Linked DNA regions of Homo sapiens: regions 1 and 2 are each linked to region 3. The links are contacts of gene promoters, found by promoter capture Hi-C in human tissues and cell types (Jung and others, 2019). All regions are on one chromosome and are shown on one strand. Each heading gives the region's core, a stretch centred on a gene start or on the middle of the fragment in contact. The rest is flanking DNA. Distances are from core to core; before and after follow the strand shown.

Region 1 (3,428 bases), core at 639-3,138, 86 kb after region 3:
TGGTCTGAGAGATTCCATTCATTCATTTCTGGGCCACTGATCTGGCCAAGGGATTCAATCTATGTAAACGGGTTGAGGCATGTCTGCAAGACTGCCTTCTGTTCCTTGCCTCTGTGATCTGGGTCTGCTTTTCTGAACACGAAGGAGTCAGACAATCAGCAAAGCAAGGCGCAGTCCTGGGGAGTGACTGCTATAAGACTACAGTAGCCCTGGCTGAGGTCAGAGCCTATAGAATTTGGTCCAGCCTGGCCATACCTGTTTGTAAGGGCAATCTACTGTATGTACGTGGATGTGTGTTTTCCCAGGACAAGGCAAAGAAGATCCATTCCTTCCAGCCTCAATCTGTATTAGTCAGGGTTCTCCAGGGAGACAGATTCAACAGGAGAGAAAGAGAGAAAGACGAAATGGAGTTTATTTATTAGGGAAATTGGCAAGAAGTCCCAAAACAGGTCGTCTGCAGACTGGAGACCCTGGGAGGCTGGTAGTATGGCTCAATTCAAGTCCCGAAGGCCTCAGAATCAGGGAATCTGATGGTGTAGCTCTCAGTTCAAGGCCAAAGGCCTGAGAAGCCAGGAAGGGTGGAGGAGAGGGGAGAAGTCCTGGAGTTTGAAGGCTGGGGAGCCTGGAGTTGTTGTCCAAGGACAGGAGAGGAAGAATGTGTCCCAGCTCCAGCAGATAGCTTGACATAGTTACCTCTCTGTTTTTGTTCTCTCCGGGACCCTAGGAGATTGGATAAATAATGCTTTACCAGGTTTCTAGATATTCTTTAATCCATTCAAGTTGACACCTAAAGTTAACCACCACACAATCCATAGATCCCAGCCAAGGCAAAAGAAGCTTTACCCCAGGCTGGGTGCATTTGCTTACGCCTATAATCCCAGCACTTTGAGGGGTTGAGGCAGGAGGATCGCTTGAGCCCAGGAGTTCCAGACCAGCCAGGGCACATAGTGAGACCCCGTCTCTATCCAAAAAAAAAAAAAAAATGCTTAGCATGGTGGCAAGTGCCTGTAGTCCCAGCTACCTGGAGGCTGAAGTGGGAGGATCACTTGAGCCCAGGAGGTCAAGGCTACTGTGAGCTGAGATCATGCCACTGCACTCCAGCCTAGGCAACAGAGCAGAGTGAGACCCTGTTTCAAAAAAAAAAAAAAAAAAGGCCAGGCAAGGTAGCTCACCCTAGCACTTTGGAGGCCAAGGCAGGCAGATCACTTGAGGTCAGGAGTTTGAGACCAGCCTGGCCAACATGGTAAAACCCCACCTCTACTAAAAATACAAAAATAGCCCTGCATGGTGGTGGGCAACTGTAATCCCAGCTACTCGGGAGGCAGAGGTTGCAGTGAGCTGAGACCATGCCACTGCATTCCAGCCTGGGCAACAGATCAAGACTCTGTGTCTCAGAAAAAAAAAAGAAAAAAAAAAGAAAAAGAAAAAGAAGCTTTTCCCCAGCCTCTTTTTTTTTAGGAAAAAGAAAATCCTATATGCCTTCAACATCAGCTGGCAAATGTAAACGTATGTTTTATTTACTGTCTTCCCTTCCTCTAACAACAAAAAAAAGGTCATTCATATTATGATCAAGCTACTATAAATTCAGTTTTGAGCAATGCAAATAAATGTTTAATCAAATTCTAAATCTCCTAAGACATCATCAGCTTTATAGCTTCCTGGCTGAGAAAGTGGTATTTGTGAGGGTGAGAAGATAATGAAATGGCTGAAATGACTCAAGGTAGCTTTAGTCAATCAGGAAATCAACATATTTTTGCCCCTATAGTGCTCAGTGAGAATGACCCATTAGGAAGACTAAATGGGGCTTTGAAAAACCAGTGCTTGCTTTACTTCCTACTAGCCAGGCCTGCTCAGGGAGCACCCAGAGCCAAAAGAAGTAACTCAAGTATGATGGAAGCCCAGTTCAGAAAAAAAGATTATGTGTAACTTCCCCCTGGAAACAAAATTTGTTTTCCACTGCCAGGCGAGCCGGGCTGCAAATTCTTGAATGGGATGCCTGCGCTGGGGAGGATCAGAGGAGACTCTGTTTGAGTGACTGTCCTGACAAGCTGGGAAAAAAATGACATGGGGCATGGTTAAAGGCTGGCAGCTGCGTGGTGGCTCACACCTGTAATCCCAGCACTTTGGGAGGCGGAGGCGGGCGGATCACGAGGTCAGGAGATCAAGACCATCCTGGCTAACACGGTGAAACCCCGTCTCTACTAAAAATACAAAAATTAGCTGGGCGTGGTGGCAGCGGCCTGTAATCCCAGCTACTCGGGAGGCTGAGGCGGAGAATGGTGTGAACCCGGGAGGCGGAGCTTGCAGGGAGCCAAGATAACGCCACTGCACTCCAGCCTGGGAAACAGAGGGAGACTCCATCTCAAAAAAAAAAAAAAAAAAAAAAGGAAGTAAAGGCTGGCAGCTGCTTTTGGGGGGGTGTTCCCAGGAGCTTCAGAGGAGTCAAGAATGAAGGAATAAAAATCACCTTAAATATTTGAAGGCATAAAGACTTTACTTTCAAACAAAGCAACACTAGCTTGAAATGTATGATATGCCTCTTCCCAGTTTGTTTTATTCTCCCCATTTTGGTTATTATGATTTTTAAAATCCTTTCATTCTTTTCACTCAGAATGAGGCAAGTAATTGATTTCCTTATGAAGAGGCCAGGCAGTCCATTTTTCATGGCGTTCAGCGTGCACAGCAAATCTAAAACCATTGTCTGGCAAATGCAGCTCGCAGCCGCAATTATTTTTTTCACCAGGTAAGCCGGCTGGCGTATGTTTTTAAAATTTTATTGTTAAGTATTGTCTTTTACTGGTTAAATCAATGATAACATTCTTTACTTTGTGGTTATGTTACTCAAAATGAGGATTTTAAACAATGATAAAAATAAAGCTTGTTAGATCATTTTTAATGGTAATAAATTGGTTCCTGAAGATTTGATTAAAAAGAAAACTAGGTCAATCTAAGCAGAGTCCAAATTAGGTAGAAAGTCCATAGAGAACGGGAAAAAAGGAAGTTGTGGAACCACAGACACAGTAAAAGGAAAAAAATTGGGCAGGTGCGATGGCTCACACCTGTAATCCCAGCACTTTGGGAGGCTGAGGTGGATGGATCGCTTGAGCCCAGGAGTTCCAGACCAGTCTGGGCAACATGACAAAACCCCCATCTCTACAAAAACTATACAAACAAAACACATTAGCCAGGCGTGGTCGTGGGCACCTGCAGTCCCTAGCTACTTCATAGGCTGAGGTAGGAGTTATCACTTGAGCCTGGGAGGTGGAGGTTACAGTGAGCTGAGATTGAGCCATTGCACTCCAACCTGGGTGACACGGTGACAGAGTGAGACCCTGTCAAAAAAAAAAAAAAGAAAAGAAATTTATTTAATTAATTTAGTTTTGTGACAAAGTCCCTTTCTGTCTCCCAAGCTGGAGTGCAATGGCATA
Region 2 (3,588 bases), core at 1,064-3,563, 110 kb after region 3:
AACCAAGATCGCTGGGATATGCATATTTAAGGTTTCAATTTTTGTGTCTCCAAATAAAATTCTCAGTTCCTCACTACCTTTTTTTTTTTTTTGAGATAGAGTCTTGCTGTGTCACCCAGACTGGAGTCCAGTGGCACGATCTTGGCTCACTGCAGCCTCTGCCTCCTGGGTTTAAGCGATTCTCCTGTCCGCTTCCCAAGTAGTTGGGATTACACGCATGAGCCACCATGCCCAGCTAATTTTTGTATTTTTAGTAGACAGGATTTCACCATGTTGCCCAGGATAATCTCGAACTCCTGGGCTCAAGTGATCCGCCCACCTGGCCTCCTCAAGTGCTGGGATTACAGGCCTGAGCCACCGTGCCTGACCACCCTCTTCAAACAAAATATGGGCACCTCCATTGGCCTAGGTCTTCATCTTGCCTACTTTATTGACTTACATTACTTACCTGGTCCCTGGAGACATATACACATTTGTCACCCTTAGAGCTCGACCAAATTGTATTGAATGCATTTCTCTGGCAATTAGTGCTTGTATTTTAATTTTCATTTCACATATGTGTTCCATTTTCCTAACAAGACTGAAATAAGCCATTTGGTATGCAGAATTCTGTTAGATATTTTTATTTTTATTTTTTTGAGACGGAGTCTTGCTTTGTTGCCAGGCTGGAGTGCAGTGGTGCGATCTCGGCTCACTGCAACCTCCACCTCCCAGGCTCAAGCGATTCTTCTGCCTCAGCCTCTGGAGTAGCTGGGACTACAGGCACGCACCACCACGCCTGGCTAACTTTTGTATTTTTAGTACAGAACTTTTGCATTTTTAGTAGAGATGGGGTTTCACCATATTGGCCAGGCTGGTCTCAAACTCCTGCCCTGGTGATCCGCCCTCCTCAGCCTCCCAAAGTGCTGGGATTACAGGCGTGAGCCACCGCGCCCAGCATCTTTTTTAAAAAAAATTGAGACAGGGTCTTGCTCTGTCACCCAAGCTGGAGTGCAGTGGTGCAATCACGGCTCACTGCAACATCCACCTCCCAGGCTCAAGCAATCCTCCCACCTCAGCCTCTCGCTAGCTGGGACCACAGGTGCACACCACCATGCCCGGCTAATTTTTCAAATTTTTTCTAAAGACGAGGTCCTGCTATGTTGCCCAGGCTGGTCTTGAACTCTTGACCTCAAGCTATCATCCGGCCTTGGCCTCTCAAAGGACTGGGATTGCAGGTGTGAGCTACCACGCCCGGCCAACTATTTTTCTTTAAATTACTTTTCGGTTGTCACTTCTCTCAATAAATATTCATATGTTTATAACACCTTTCTCTTATCTAAAGAGCTGACCTCAACCACTCAGGGTTGAGTCGCTGTGATAAGGTTTGAGGGTGCCTGAAATGTCATCATGATTCGTCCTTTGGGCTAAGCTGAAACCTAGTGACTTGTCAGGTCAATAAATTAAGGTTATTTCCCGATAATACAAACATTTAACACCGTGAAGTAGGTTTTAGGCAGGATTCCCTCTTTTCCACTGCAAAGGAGAGGTAAGTTCTTGCTGAGGTGATCGAAGTCCTAGCTGGGGCACTGGGAAGGTGGCGGGACATTGGAACGTGCAGTAGTTGCGTTCTGGAGTTTACTGAGGCTTTCCCAGTGCGGATTCCACGCTACAGGTCTTAGGGCGCCCCTCCCTCCGGGCGTGGCAGCCCGGGGCGTGGCTCCTGGCACAGATCCGGAGCAGTTGTCATTGGAGTCATTTTCTGGACTCCAGCTCCATGCTTCAGAGTTTCCTAAGTTCAGGGGGCTTGTCTCTCTGTCCCCTCGACTAATTTCCCTCTGTCGCTGGCGCTGCCCGGTGCCCTCGGTCGCTTGGGCCGCCCCTCTCCGCGACTTTTTTTTTTCTTTCTCTCGCTGGCTCTTTCAGCATCAGTTTCCATAGGGGGAGGGAAGGGAATGATATTTGGGGGCTCCCTTGCCTTCCTCTCCGAGCCGCGAAAGGGGAGACGCGGGGAGGAGGTCCGGCCGGCTTTGGGCTCCAGCCAGCGGTCCGCGGAGACTTTGGTCTCCGAAGGCCTTTGACGCCGGGCATTTCGCGAGCTGCGCGCCCCTCTCAGCCGCGCCACCTGCGCCCGGAGTTTTGCCGCGCCACCCGCGCCCGGAGTCCAGCCGCACCGCGCTGTGCCGAGCCCAGGCGCCCAGGGCTCCCCGCCCCCGACTCGACGCTCCCGCGCTCCCCCTAGCGGCCGCCGCGCCGCTTCGCTCCGTCCCAGGCTCGTCGGCGGCGCAGCTCACGTGACCGCGCTCTGGGCCTGCGGCCGCTGTCGGTTCCCCCAGTCACCGAGCGAGAGGGAAGAAACAAGATGGCGGCTGAAGGCGATCCGGAGTGGGGCCCCAGCAATTCGGATTGAGCCTTCTCCCTCCACCCGCTTCCGTCGGCCGGGCCCCTCCCGCCCGGCCCCGCGGGCCTCCCCACCCGGCCCCGGCGCTCCCCACCGCCCCCCCTGCGCCCGCCCCTCCCCCTTCGCTTTCCTTCTCCCCCCGCCTCGGCTCCGACATGAGGGGCCGGCGGGGCAGGCCGCCCAAGCAGCCCGCGGCTCCCGCTGCGGAGCGCTGCGCCCCGGCCCCGCCGCCACCGCCGCCGCCGCCCACGTCCGGACCCATCGGGGGGCTCCGCTCGCGGCACCGCGGCAGCAGCCGGGGCAGGTGGGCCGCCGCCCAGGCTGAGGTGGCGCCCAAGACGCGGCTGAGCTCGCCCAGGGGGGGCAGCAGTAGCCGGAGGAAGCCGCCGCCGCCGCCGCCGGCCCCCCCCAGCACCAGCGCCCCGGGCCGGGGGGGGCGAGGAGGCGGGGGCGGCAGGACGGGGGGCGGGGGCGGCGGCGGCCACCTGGCCCGGACCACCGCGGCCCGGAGGGCCGTCAACAAAGTGGTGTACGATGACCACGAGAGCGAGGAGGAGGAGGAAGAGGAGGACATGGTCTCCGAGGAGGAGGAGGAGGAGGACGGCGACGCCGAGGAGACCCAGGATTCTGAGGACGACGAGGAGGATGAGATGGAAGAGGACGACGATGACTCCGATTATCCGGAGGAGATGGAAGACGACGACGACGACGCCAGTTACTGCACGGAAAGCAGCTTCAGGAGCCATAGTACCTACAGCAGCACTCCAGGTACCCACCCAGCCCAGTTGCTGCAGACTCCTTCCCCACCTCCTCTGCCCTCCCCCCTTGCTCACTCGTGTGCTGTGCATCCTGCTCCGATCTCCCCCCAACCCCGCCTCCCCCCCAAACAGAGGGGAAATGCGACGGCACATCAAGTGGCAAAAAACTAGATTTACAAGAGGAAAGAGGCGCATTGTTCAAAATGGAGATTGCATTGTTGCAGTTTGCAGGCCACACTCGCTCGCTCTCTCTCCCCCCCCCAACCCCCTTTTTTTCCTCTTCAAAATTTGTGCCAGTGCAGTGTCTCCACCGGGCAGGATTGAAACTTTGGCAAACACATATCCATTGCATTCATTTTTCTCCCCTTGTTTTGGTGTGGTTTTCTGGAATGAAAGAAGCCTCTTGTTTTGCAAACCTCTTTGCATTTCTAATGTGGTTTCTTTCGGATT
Region 3 (3,483 bases), core at 984-3,483:
ATTGCACTCCAGCCTTCGTGACAAGAGTGAACCTCTGTCTCAAAAAAGAAAAAAAAAGGCTGGGCGCAGTGGCTCACGCCTGTAATCCCAGCACTTTGGGAGGCCGAGGCGGGCGAATCACGAGGTCAGGGGATCGAGACCATCCTGGCTAACAAGGTGAAACCCTGTCTCTACTAAAAATACAAACAAGTCAGCCGGGCATGGTGGCGGGCGCCTGTAGTCCCAGCTCAGGAGGCTGAGGCAGGGGAATGGCGTGAACCCGGGGCGCAGAGCTTGCAGTGAGCCGAGATTGCGCCACTGCACTCCAGCCTGGGCTACAGTGCAAGACTCCGCCTCAAAAAAGAAAAAAGAAAGAAAGAAAGAAAAGCCTTGCTACTGATGGTGCCCTCATCACCTCTCACCTGGTAACTACAATAACTGCGATAGACTTCTAGGGAATCTCCCTGTTGGTGCCCCAGGCGCACTTGCTACTGAGAATGCTCTTAGTTAACTGCATGATCGCTCCCTCCCCTAGTTAACTGCATGATCGCTCCCTCCCCTCCTTCATGCCATCCTCAAAAGATACCCTTGGGCCAGGCACTGTGGCTCTGTAATCCCAGCACTCTAGGAGGCCAAGGGGGGAGGGTCATTTCAGCCCAGGAATTCAAGGTCAGCTTGGGCAATACGGTGAAACCCCATCTTTACAAAAAATACAAAAATTAGCCGGGCATGGTGGTGCATGTCTGTAGTCCCAGGTACTCGGGAGGCTGAGGTGGGAGGATAGCTTAAATCCGGGAAGCAGAGATTGCAGTGAGTTGAGACTGCGTCACTCCAGCCTGGGCGACAGAGCAAGACCCTGTCTCAAAAAAAAAAAAAAAAAAAAAAAGACATCCTCTCAAGGAGGCCTGTGGTCATCCTAGTGAAAATTTCACATACACAGACCACTCCTTCCTCCCCCACACACCCACGCTTTATCTCTCCCTTCTGAGTTTAATGTTTTTCTTCTTACCACCTATCACAAAGTAAGTTATGAAGCATAATAATAAACTATATCCTCTTGATCTCACAACCCAGCCTAAAAATTAAAAGATTATCAGAGTTCAAGATCACCTTGGGCAACAAAGCAAGACTCCATGTCTGCAAAAAATACAAAAATTAGCCGGGCGTGGTGATGGATGCCTGTAGTCCCAGTTATTCGGGAGGCTGAAGCAGGAGGATTGCTTTATTTAGCCCAAGAGTTAGAGGCTGCAGTGAGCCATGATAATGCCACTACTTTTGAACAACAAAAGACCTATTAGCATTATAAAAATAGACTGCATTTGATTCCTTCACAGTAGCTGGATATTCTCCTTTTGCCCATGTCGTCATGTTGGGGCAATGAGAAACAACACACATGGCGATCTGGTGGATGCTTAAATCTAAACTGAGGCACTTTGTCACACTGGGTACATTTGTTTAGTAATTGCCTATTAAATGGTTTCTCCCTAAGAACATCACAATTTATCTTTACTTATTTATTTAACATTATTGATTGAATCTGCCATGCTTATCTGAGAAACATACATTTCTCCCGGAAATAAAAACCTTGCCAAAAATCACACAGGGGACCTTCAACTTCACCTTCATCAAACTAGTCTGAATTTCCTGTAAGCTGAGGAGAGATTTTCCCCACTGGGGCTCAGAGAAGGGGAGTCAGAGAACTCAGAAGGCCTGAAAGACTGAAAAGACTGGAGATCTCTAGAGGGTTCCAAGAAACTTGGGGGGAATTAAGCATTTCACGTAGGAACAGCACGTTATTGGGAGTTTACCTACAGAGATAAATATTTTTTCTTTGGCAGATCGTTCCACAAGGCCATGGATGGAATTCCTAGGGAGTTCCCTTGCAATTAAAAAAAAAAAAATCTAGCTTATTTATATTCGACCACTCCCTAGACCCATCTACAGTCTCTCAAGTCCCCACCTAGAACAGCACGCAGCCGATTCAGGACCCAGTAAGCAGCACTTCCGCGCCTACCCTATCCCTTCCTGGAGCACATCCGGGACTCGGCGAGGCGTGGTCTCGGGAGGCGGAGTCTGACGCAAGCCGGCCCAGCCCACCTGGCTAAATTCACAGTCGCGCTCGCTCCTTCCGCCCGCCAGAGGTCGCAGGCTGCGAGAGCAGGTTCCTGGTTTGGCAAGCACTCGCCCCCTCAGGCCCGTTCATTCTCGCGAGAGAAAGCGCGAGGCCTGCCGGGAGTGAGCGCGGCCGTACTTAGGTTTGCTCAAAATGGCAGCGCTGGAGGAAGAATTCACGTTGTCTTCGGTAGTCCTGAGCGCCGGGCCTGAAGGACTCCTAGGCGTGGAGCAGAGCGACAAAACAGACCAGTTTCTAGTGACAGACAGCGGCAGGACAGTCATCCTCTATAAGGTGAAGGCAATAGGTTTGGGAGCGCCCCGACTGCCTTCTCGCCCCTTTCTGAGCGCGGAGCTCGAGCTCAAGTTTCTCACAGCTTCAGAAAGAGATCGTGGAGAAGGCTTAGCAGAGAGCCGGCTGGGCCTGTTGGGGACGCTGAGTGAGGTCTGGAATCTGGCTTGCTTGCCTTCCTGTAAAGGCATATTTCCGACTTGCAGGGGCAGAGCGTCTGAGTGCACGTGGGTTAGACTCGGAAAAGAAAGAAAACCTGTGCTTTTGCTTCGGAACTCGCGGAATTGGCCTTGCTAAGATTCCCTCCTAGGGTCTTTATTATCTTAGCCGCCCGCGGGAGGATGGAACGGAGATTGGTTGGGCGGGAGAGGATGACACTGACAGAGTGGGAATAGTGGTTTAGCCGTGTCTACACTTCACACCCCTCTCTTTGTAGGGGCGGGGACAATTTTAGAGAGTGAGGGACTTTCTTGATAGCTCGCTAAGAATCTTGCCTCCAAGTGAGTTGTCTGTTGGCATCTCTGATTCACGCTGGGAATCCTGGAGTTGAGTCCTGGGAAAATCTGCAAGCCCTGCCCCCATTTCAGCCTAAAGCCTGATAGAGAACACTTTCTAACCTTGCTTTTGGTGGTCGCATAGAAAGCAGTTACTTTTCTCTGGGCTGCTGAACATAGTTTTCCATGTTTTAAAGAAGTTAGGTATCTGCTTTGACGTTTTGAGAACAGGTTGCTAACAGCTCCCTGTGCCGTTTTGACTCTGCTAACTCTATTGGGTTTCACTTGGGATGTCAAGTAGATTTGCAGTTTTGCAGCTCCTGCATAGGAATACAATGGCAGATTGGAATTGGATAGACATGATCCCAGATGTCCCTACTTAATTTCCCATGCCGCTGTTCAGAGGCATAACTTCCCATGCAGAGGCATAATATAATCAATTTTTAAATGTACTATTGTTTTTTTAACAAAGGGTTGCTTATTTACTTATTTAGGAACTTAGTTATATTTTCATTTTAACTACCCTTTTAGAGGTTTGGCCGGACGCGGTGGTTCACGCCTGTAATCCCAGAACTTCGGGAGGCCCAGGTGGGTGGATCACTTGAG

Evidence for each region. Contacts are between HindIII fragments. The study calls those that stand out against the background at their distance.
Region 1: a fragment that was not itself captured here is called in contact with the fragment with the promoter of NOL11 in region 3 in 2 of the 25 tissues and cell types used here (dorsolateral prefrontal cortex and hippocampus).
Region 2: a contact is called between the fragment with the promoter of BPTF here and the fragment with the promoter of NOL11 in region 3, in 1 of the 25 tissues and cell types used here (stomach).

Annotation. Positions count from the first base shown.
Region 1 is chr17:67,801,875-67,805,302 of GRCh38, forward strand. No RefSeq gene overlaps it. Among named protein-coding and RNA genes, the nearest start is that of BPTF, 22 kb to the right of the region's middle. The HindIII fragment of the contact is 6,501 bases long and covers 1-3,428 here.
Region 2 is chr17:67,823,190-67,826,777 of GRCh38, forward strand. It overlaps BPTF (bromodomain PHD finger transcription factor), which reads left to right and starts at 2,314. Exons shown (of 28, transcript NM_182641.4): 1 at 2,314-3,148. The coding sequence starts at 2,536. RefSeq lists enhancers at 1,562-2,259, 2,260-2,955, 2,918-3,187 and silencers at 2,168-2,237, 2,438-2,487, 2,668-2,867. The HindIII fragment of the contact is 39,315 bases long and covers 1-3,588 here.
Region 3 is chr17:67,715,703-67,719,185 of GRCh38, forward strand. It overlaps NOL11 (nucleolar protein 11), which reads left to right and starts at 2,234. Exons shown (of 18, transcript NM_015462.5): 1 at 2,234-2,386. The coding sequence starts at 2,246. LOC101928045 (a long non-coding RNA gene) reads right to left here and starts at 1,976. Exons shown (of 4, transcript NR_188294.1): 1 at 1,940-1,976. RefSeq lists enhancers at 2,145-2,224, 2,295-2,484, 3,407-3,483 and a silencer at 2,755-2,844. The HindIII fragment of the contact is 26,229 bases long and covers 1-3,483 here.